Regions from separate parts of the Homo sapiens genome. Here region 1 is linked to region 2. The links are contacts of gene promoters, found by promoter capture Hi-C in blood cells and fetal thymus (Javierre and others, 2016). All regions are on one chromosome and are shown on one strand. The core of a region is centred on a gene start or on the middle of the fragment in contact, and the rest is flanking DNA. Distances in the headings are between cores, read along the strand shown. Region 1 overlaps MTCL3 (MTCL family member 3). Region 2 holds the start of PTPRK (protein tyrosine phosphatase receptor type K).

Region 1 (4,093 bases), core at 1,174-3,673, 1.0 Mb before region 2:
ATAGACTTCAAGCAATGAATGGATTAGATCAAATGGACCTTAGAGTCTTTTCCATCCTAAAAATTCATGGTTCTATGAACTCAATTGTAAGTAATCTCATGGGGCTAATTATTCCCCTCAACTATCACAAGTCTCATTCCTTCACACGCTTGACACTCTTTGCATTTAATATGCTGTGGAATTGATTTAATTAACATACATTTAGAAGACACAGAGATGAAACACAGAGATCAGTCAAAGCTCGTACATGTCGAGTTAGATACCGTGTTTAGGTCAGAATCTTTCGTTGCTACTCATTTATTAGTATGAAATCATGTATTTTTTACTATTTGGGTAAGAGTAAAAAATTGTCCTGCAATCATAAAAGAAATTTTTTAACAGTCATATTAGTCCTTGGGATTCTTTTTTAAAGGGCTAAAAATACATAGTACACCATGAAATAATCAAATACTAACCTCTTTCATTTTTTCCAGTTCATTCTGTAAAGCTTGCTTTGCAATTTCAACTTCTATGAGCTGTTGCCTCAGTTTCTCATTTTCATCTTCTGTTGTTGTTCTCTTTTCTTCCACATTTTCTAATTCATGGTGAAGTCTCACAGATACATCCTTTGCAACCTGAATTAAGGTGTTTGTAACAATAAAATATAATTAATGACAATATAATAAGGGCTAAAATTGTATTCCTATTGAAAGCATTAAAACCCAATATTTATATGGTGTTTACCATGTGCCAGGCATTATTCCACAAAGTATACATATAAGCCATTCACATATATCAATCGTTTAACCCTACAAAAATCCCATGGGATAGGTACTATTATTACTTCTATTTTGTAGATGAGGAAACTGAGTCTCAGAGAGGTCAAGGTCACACAGCTAATGAGTAGACACTGCTGGGCTAAGAGGCCTGGCAATCTGGCTCTAAATTTTGTTCCCTTAACTTCTGCACTACTCTGTGGTAAAAAATGTTCTATTGCATTTTATCACATGTAGAGAAATTTCACAAATTTCCTTTACTTCAGCAAAACTATGAGGTAGATGTTTCCATTATAATCTATGTTAAAGAATGAAAAATTGAAGTTTTTACAAGTAGTGGGTTGGGCTTGAATTTCAATCTTATAGCTTGAATTCCAGTTGCTTAATCTTAGGAAAGTTTTAGTCCTTGAGATTATTATTTTTTGAATGACTGTGCATTTTTGCCTCATATTTTGAGATTATCCTGGAAATTCTAGGGTTTGGAAGAAAAGTGGAGCAGACTGGTGTAGAGGCTTAGGACACAGGTTGTGATTTTGGACTGAGTGGAGAGTCAGCCTGGCACCTATTAGCTGTTTTCCAGGCCTGGGCACTTAACCTCTGTAAAAGGTGTAGCTTCTGCACCTATAAAATGGTGCCTTAATAATCCCTACATTGTAGGATTTTTTTTCCCTTGAGAATTAAATGAAATAATAATGTATGTAACAGTGTTTGCCACAGTGCTTAGTACATACTAAGCACTCGACAAAAGTTAAGAAAAAAAGTAATACGTCTTTCATAAAATGTTTACACATAGCTTTCTTTAAAACAAAGATTACACGTGATCTTTAAATCCCAATGAAGTTAATGCAATGAACGTATACTTATTTGGTTGTGCAAGGAGATTAAGTTAATGTCTAGTTTGCATAGTCAATGAATCTGCCTACAGTCAAACTGAACTGGAGACCACACCTGTCTAGAAAATGCACTTCAAGGTTGAGATTTTTCCACTGGAAGAAATTCTGAAGGAACAATTGCACTTTAAAAAAATGAGATTATTTCATTTACCTCACACCAAACAGGCTGCAAGTTGGTTATCTGTTTTTTTTTTCCCCCTCAGGGAGTCACCTAAGTGGCAAGTGCAGAAAGGAAGAAGTCCTGGAAGAAGGAAGTGGAGTGGACACTTGCTGAAAGAAATCTTAACTCTAGTATCTTCCCAGTGCAGTTCCTATTTTGGGTTTCAACTCCCCCAGAGGAGTCCTTTTAGTGCAGCTCCTGACTGCCCGATTCCACCGGACTTCTCTCAGTAGACAGACTGAAGGGCAGATCAAAGGCTAGAGCCTGCGCTCTGCCACGCCCTTGCTTCTGCCCAGAAGGGAGCCTTCTTCTCATCACCTCTTGAAGAGCCACCTTTGCTCCCAGGAGAGCACACTTAGCTCGTTTGCTGCCAGGCCCTCCACACACTCTGCACTCTTTAGAGCCACCTGCCAGTTCTCTCCCTTCTGAGACCCTAGTATTTTGTGGTTAGCGCTACGAAACTGTGTCCCTAAGGCTCCTTGCCAGTCGCCACTGAAGACTTCTCAGCCTAAAGAGCCCTTGGCCAAAGTCCCCACCCACCGCCCCTGCCGCGCGCCATTGAGCCCCCGCGCCGCAGACCTTGAGGTCCTGCTCCAGGCTGCGCAACAGCTCCCCGTCGATTTCCCCGGTCTGGGCGTAGCGGAGCCTTTTGCGCTCGGCTTTGCGGAGGCGGTACTGCAGGATCCGGCAGTTTTTGTTGGCTCTCTCCAACTCGTGGCGCATTTCCTGCAGTTGACAGGCATCCTCCTCGAAGAAAGTGTCCCTCATCTCGTCCATCTCGGTTCTCAGCTCATCGATCTCGTTCTGAGGCGGTGACAGGCCGCGTGTCAAAATCAAACTCGCTTCCAGCCCTTCCGACACACACCGTACACACCCCATTCCAATTCCAAATTCTCAGCTTTAATTGCCCTCTCTCTCCACGAGACAGGAGTGACAAGGAGCTGAGTACAGAAGAGGAAACTGGGGGAAAAAGGCCCACTTTAGGCCCTCTCTCGTTCTCTTACTCTACCTCTCTCCAGGAAGAAGTGTGACAAACCATTATAATTAGAGAAACGGAGGCCCAGATTTGAATTTAAATGAAAACCTCGCGTTACTGAGAGCAGATTCAAATTCCGGCAAGGCCTAGGAAACCCCCTCCCTCCTTTCTTGTTCTCCTCCCTCTTCAAGGCTCCCTAACAGGTTAGCAGCCTCTGATCCCTGCCGGTACACGCCCTAATCCTCCCAGGCCCACTCTTCCCATCCCCCAGCCGGGTCCCCCCACCCTCCTCACCTTGAGAGTCTCGTTTTCCTCTCGCAGCTTCTCCATCTCCTCTTGCATTTCTTCCTGCTCTTGGAGCTGCTGCGGGTGCGGCTGCGACGAAGGGGGCGCTGCCGCCTGCATGCCCCCGCCGCTCGCGCTGCCCTCTGCGCTCTGCTGGGGGCCCTCCGCCGCCGCCGCCATTGGGGAGGCGGAGGCGACGGCCAGGGTCTCGCAAACGGCAGGGGGGCCAGACACCGGGGAGCTGCGGCTACTGCTGCCGCCGCCGTTCTTAGCGTGCATCTGAGCCGCGGCCGCCGCCGCTGCCGCCCGCTCCTTCTTGAGATGGAACTGGATGAGCTCAGACTGCAGACATCCTTCTTTCCAGTAGCTCCCTCCACCACCGCTGCCGCCCCCCGCAACGCCGCTTCCGGAGTTTCTGCTGCCGGTTCCTGGGGTTTTGCCCGCAGAAGAGGAGGATGGAGAAGGGGAGGCCCCCTCCCCGCCGCTGCCGCCCCTCTGCTGAGCGCGTACGCCTTTCCCTCGCCAGCCCCTGGGCGGCGGCGGCTGCGGAGCGCCCCCCTCCCTTTCCCCGGAGCCGCCGCCGGCTCCTCCTCCTTCCCCGCCCCCTCCTCCCCCTTCTCCGAGCGGAGGGGGTTCCCCGAGTTTCGAGGGCACGGACTCTAGCTCCCGAGGCGGCTCCTCGGGCGGTCCGGGCCTCCTGCCGCCCAAAGCGGCCAGGGTCGCGGCGGGGGCCGCTTCAGCACCAGCCACAGGCTGGACAGCTCCCGGAGCGGCCCCTTTGGGCGCCAGGGGCGTCGCCTTCTCGGCCCCACCTCCGCCTCCTCGGATGCTGGCGGGCGGCCCCGTGCGGCTCCCGGTCTTGTTACCCTGCTGTTGCTGCTGCTGCAGCTGCTGCTGCCGAACAGAATTGAGTTTAGTGCCGGCCCCCACTGGGGACCGGGTGGCCGCGATTGTCTGTCGCAGCGAACTGTCCCTCGGTCTAGCGGGTGACTGAGCTCGCTGCTGCTTTCTGCTGCTGCCCTCC
Region 2 (4,391 bases), core at 1,855-4,354:
GGGTGTCATTTTAAGTGAGAGGTGAAACTGAAAGAATGTATGAGTTGGGATTTACAGAACGTTCTGGTTTTAAAGAGGCTCACAGTGCAGCAGTTTTACACTTTAACTGCAAAAGCTAAGAAAAAAGTCACAATAATGAAAACACTCTTACATTTTTGGTTTAAACAAAGAAAACTGAATAAGTATATGACACATCAAAGTCCCAACAATGCTCAGCCTTTCAAAATTTGCTTTTGAAGCTTACTACATTAGGAACCACATGATATCGGAAAGTAAACTGATCTTAATGAGTATGATTTGAAAGACATACTTCAGATATTTTTAAATTCTCAACATGAATTTGTCTTGGACTTTTAAAGTGGGTTTATTTAAATTTCTCAAAAGGAATAAAAGTTCACTAGTTAAAGTAAAATATAAGAAAAACCAGCAATATGGAATACACCTCCAATCTTCAATACATCTCTAATCTATGTCTGCAACAAATCTGACTGCCATAGAATTTTATGACAATAAAATATCAAATGATTTATGGTAGCCAGAAAAAAAAGGAAGTATTTACAAAACAAACTTATAATTTGTGGAGAAAGGCAAATCCACAATCTGACTTTAAACTCTGGGAATAAAAGACATTCATTTCTGGGCATACATTCCTAAAGGGCAAAATCTTGAGATGCAATCCTGTGATTACTGTACTTTTTAGGAATGCACATTATATTAATTAAATATACAACATCATGTCAAATGTTATGCTTTGTCACTAAAGAAAAGCCAGGCATATTTAGTTAAAGTACTTAGAACTAGATATCTAAGAACACAATTGTTTATTGTACGTATCTAAACTCCAGGTATCAGAAAAGCTCATTTTCACATTCAGCTGGAGGAAAAGTAGTATTTATTTGTTAATTAAAGGGTAAATAACATTTAAAAAGAGAAAAAGTTTTCTAACTGCTGAAAATATATCCATCGCTGTTGAGACATTAATAGTTGCAACTCTTGAATACATGTAAGTTTAATTATGCAACTGGTAGAGTTCAAACTTTCAATTAACAAACTACAAGCCTTTTCAAGCGTAGGCTCTCCGTGCAGTGACAAACACTGTGCAGAAATCAATACTCACTCCAACTTGCCTGCATATAATGAGTTACATCAAGCACGGTTTCAATGCTAACGGGCATTATATGTCAGAAATGCATGCAGTAATGCTTACTCCAGAAAGAATTCAATTAAACCATTGGATTATTTTTTGCATAGAGCTGTTACCCTCTGCGTACATCAATTATATACAGGGCTTTTCCTCTGCGTGCTGCCATTTCATAATCTCTGCCTGAATGTACGACACATGCTGCCACCTGAATCTGTTGTTTAACTCCCTTTACAGAGTTCTAAATGGGGCGGGGGTAGGAGAGCAATGGAAGGGAAATAAACGATTACTCCAGAAAACAACAATTTGAGTTTATTTCCAGGAAACAGGGCCTCCACAACAACGTGAGAAACTGTCAGGTACAAAGTAAGTTATTTGCGTCCTGCGGCTTCAGCCAGGAGCGTGGCTGTCGCTTTTCCCGTCTTCTCCATCACCCTCTGGCCACCACTGCGTCTCCATCTGCACCGCGAACCCCAGCAGCAGATGCGCTCGCCAGCCAAGCGAAGCTGGGTAGGTTGGCCAGAAAAGTTGTCAGGACTGGCGGGAGGTAGACAAGTGCTCGGGAGCCCGCTCCCCAGCGTCCACCTGGTGAAACTTCAGAGCCCCCAGAGGAGAGAACGAAAGAAGCAACCAACCTACACGAAGGATAACAAAACTGGAGGGGAACAGAGGGCGGGACCGGGAGAGCCAGGGTTCACGGACTTCTCTGAGCGGCTTGACCGAGAACCCCCAGGGCTACAGCGAGACGCTCCACTTGTCTCCTTTTGGGTTCTCCGGCAGAAGGCAGACATTTACAGTCCGCTTCCAGCCCCAGGCCGGATCCGGGGAGCGCGGGGCCAGAGCCCCAGGCCGGATCCGGGGAGCGCGGGGCCAGCCTGGCGGTGGTTTTGCCCGAGGAGCGGGCTCCCACGCGCGAGTCAGGCTTCCTCCACCAGGCGCCCAGACCTCGATGCCCATGAACGCTCAGAGTGGGTCCTTAGAACCGCATTTCAACACATCTTACAGGGCTCCGCCAACACACACACAGAACATGCTCCAAGCAGTGCCCGAGCGCACAGGGCAAGCCCGGGAGCAACCCAGAGCTGGGGGAGGAGAAAAGGGGACTCCGGGAGGGACGGGGAAGTAGTTAGACAATAGTCAGGGGAGGTTATTCCCGGGACAAAAAGCACCTGGCAAAGCGCGCCGAGGTCAGTCCCTTCGAATCTCCACATTTCTGACAATGGCTTCCCAGGGAATTTGTTTAAACACCCAAGTGGCAGACAGCAACAAACCCGCACCACAAGCAACAGAGTGCCGTCACGGGAGTCGTAACTACTTTTTCTTTCTCTCTTCCCCACTAGCCCGGCGCAGGCCACGCGAGACGCCGAAGCCAGCAGGTCCCCACACTCTCCGGCTAGACCGTGCCAGCCTGAGCCCCGAGCAAGCTTCGGAGAGGAACAATGGGTGCCCCGCGTCCCACCTGGCACGAACTCTGGGGACAGCCCTCCCTCTACCCTGTGTTCCCCACCCCCGGACAGAGAGAGCTCCCCACGATCCTTGTCCCCAGCCCTAGCGGGGACCTGGCTCACCCCTCGTGAGCCCAGGACTCCAGGCGTTCGTCGGGGACGCCCCCCGGCCACTCACCTGCGGAGAACTGGCCTTGGGCCGATCCCAGGAGAGGCCAAGGAGAGAGGAGCAAGAGCGCCACAAAAGCAGGCAGCGCCGCCGCCGCAGTCGTATCCATGCCGAGTTTGGGAGAAGTTTCAAGCAGCTTTGCAAAGAGCTGCCGGGGGGATCGCCGCGAAATCCACGACGGAGGAGCGGGCCGGGCCTCGCGGGGTGAGGACGGTGAGAGGACAGCCGCCCGCCCGCCCTTTTTCCTTCTTCGCGGTCGCCAAACTACCTCAGGGGCGAAAGCGTCGCCAGCGTCGCCGGCCGGCCGCGGCGGCAGCTCTCCATGCTCGGCGGAGGCTGCTCCTGTTAGTCAAGAGTTACTTTGCTCGGGGAGGGACGGGGGCGGAGCCGGGGGTGACGTCGCCCCGCGGGCTCCGGGCGCTTCTGAGGAATGCGGGCTCGGGCGCGGCGCCGCCACCGCCTCCTGCCGGAGAGACGCGCGCCAGCCCCGGCCGCGCGCCCCGCGCCGCCTTTGTTCGCAGCCTGGGCCCCGCCGCCAGCCGCTGCTCGGAGGGAGCGAGCGAGAAAGGGGAGCCGGCGCAGCTCGCTGCCCTGTTCCAGAACTCAGAATTTGAGAGGCGAGAGTTCGGTAAGCCGTGCGACCAGACGACCGAGGACGCGCGCAGAGAAACCCCCGCCGTCCGAGGAGAGGCGTCCTGGGGTTCCGTCCCAAGGTGGAGGTCCCCCCGAGCGGTTGCTGATTGAAAGGGGAGTGTGGAAGCGCCCTGAGGAAACACCCGCCTGCCTTGAAAACTCCCCGTTCCTTATTCTTGTAATAAGGAATAAGACACCCCACCCCCATCGAAAACTTGTCCCTTATTCATAGAATAAATAAAACTTGAACCAGAATAAACGATCAGTAACTTTCCAGCGTGAACAGCTGGCGTGTCTCCTTTCTGGTTTATTTGTCATTGGCCAAGTATTTGGATTTACTCTGCTTCACTGACTTTGCTTGTTGCTCTGAAACCCTCCGGCCCCTTTCCAGTTCTCACCTAAGAACTGCATCAGGGCTTATTATCCCTTCCTTGCACCTAGGTCTGGTGTGTGTGTGGTTTTGTTTTTTTTAATATCTAGTAGGTAGTTAAGACATAAGTATTTAACAAAAGGACTTTTACACTGACCATGAAAACAGCTTCTTCGGAATGATTCATCTGGCAGAAAATAATGCTATATTATGACAGTAAAATATTTCACAGTTAACTACTTCAGCAGCTTGAAGTGGTTTCGCCATATGCCACCCTGCCTTACTTCTGTGGTAAGACTGTATGGTGCATACTTTATTCATTTTTGTAAAATGTCACAAAAAATAGGTATGGTCACAATTGAATAACATAATAACTTTGATTCAGAATTTTTATGTGTTATGTACAATTGCTAAAACAATAGTCTGTTGATTGACATCTCTCAGTTTCTCAGACATCTTAGCCTTTGTAAATCAAGACAATGTGAAATTCATTTTAATATAACATTCACATAATTTACCAAGCCACATATTCTTTTAATCAAATATATGCTATTAATGACCAGACTTATGACAGAGCCTGTGGAAACAAAAATGTAATAAATATACACACAAATATATACATATATAAATACA

Evidence for each region. The method cuts DNA at HindIII sites, captures the fragments that hold promoters and counts their contacts. A CHiCAGO score of 5 or more calls a contact.
Region 1: a fragment that was not itself captured here is called in contact with the fragment with the promoter of PTPRK in region 2 in 2 of 17 cell types (fetal thymus and total CD4 T cells); the score reaches 8.1 in fetal thymus.

Annotation. Positions count from the first base shown.
Region 1 is chr6:127,512,436-127,516,528 of GRCh38, forward strand. It overlaps MTCL3 (MTCL family member 3), which reads right to left. Exons shown (of 7, transcript NM_001400265.1): 2 at 3,079-4,093; 3 at 2,388-2,612; 4 at 456-614. SOGA3-KIAA0408 (SOGA3-KIAA0408 readthrough) reads right to left here. Exons shown (of 13, transcript NR_174482.1): 2 at 3,079-4,093; 3 at 2,388-2,612; 4 at 456-614. LOC107986642 (a long non-coding RNA gene) reads left to right here. Exons shown (of 2, transcript XR_001744337.2): 2 at 1,852-2,865. Among named protein-coding and RNA genes, the nearest start is that of MTCL3, 4.9 kb to the right of the region's middle. RefSeq lists an enhancer at 2,372-2,896 and a silencer at 3,584-3,813. The HindIII fragment of the contact is 3,876 bases long and covers 486-4,093 here.
Region 2 is chr6:128,517,495-128,521,885 of GRCh38, forward strand. It overlaps PTPRK (protein tyrosine phosphatase receptor type K), which reads right to left and starts at 3,105. Exons shown (of 30, transcript NM_002844.4): 1 at 2,765-3,105. The coding sequence starts at 2,864. RefSeq lists enhancers at 2,279-2,872, 2,873-3,467. The HindIII fragment of the contact is 3,706 bases long and covers 2,564-4,391 here.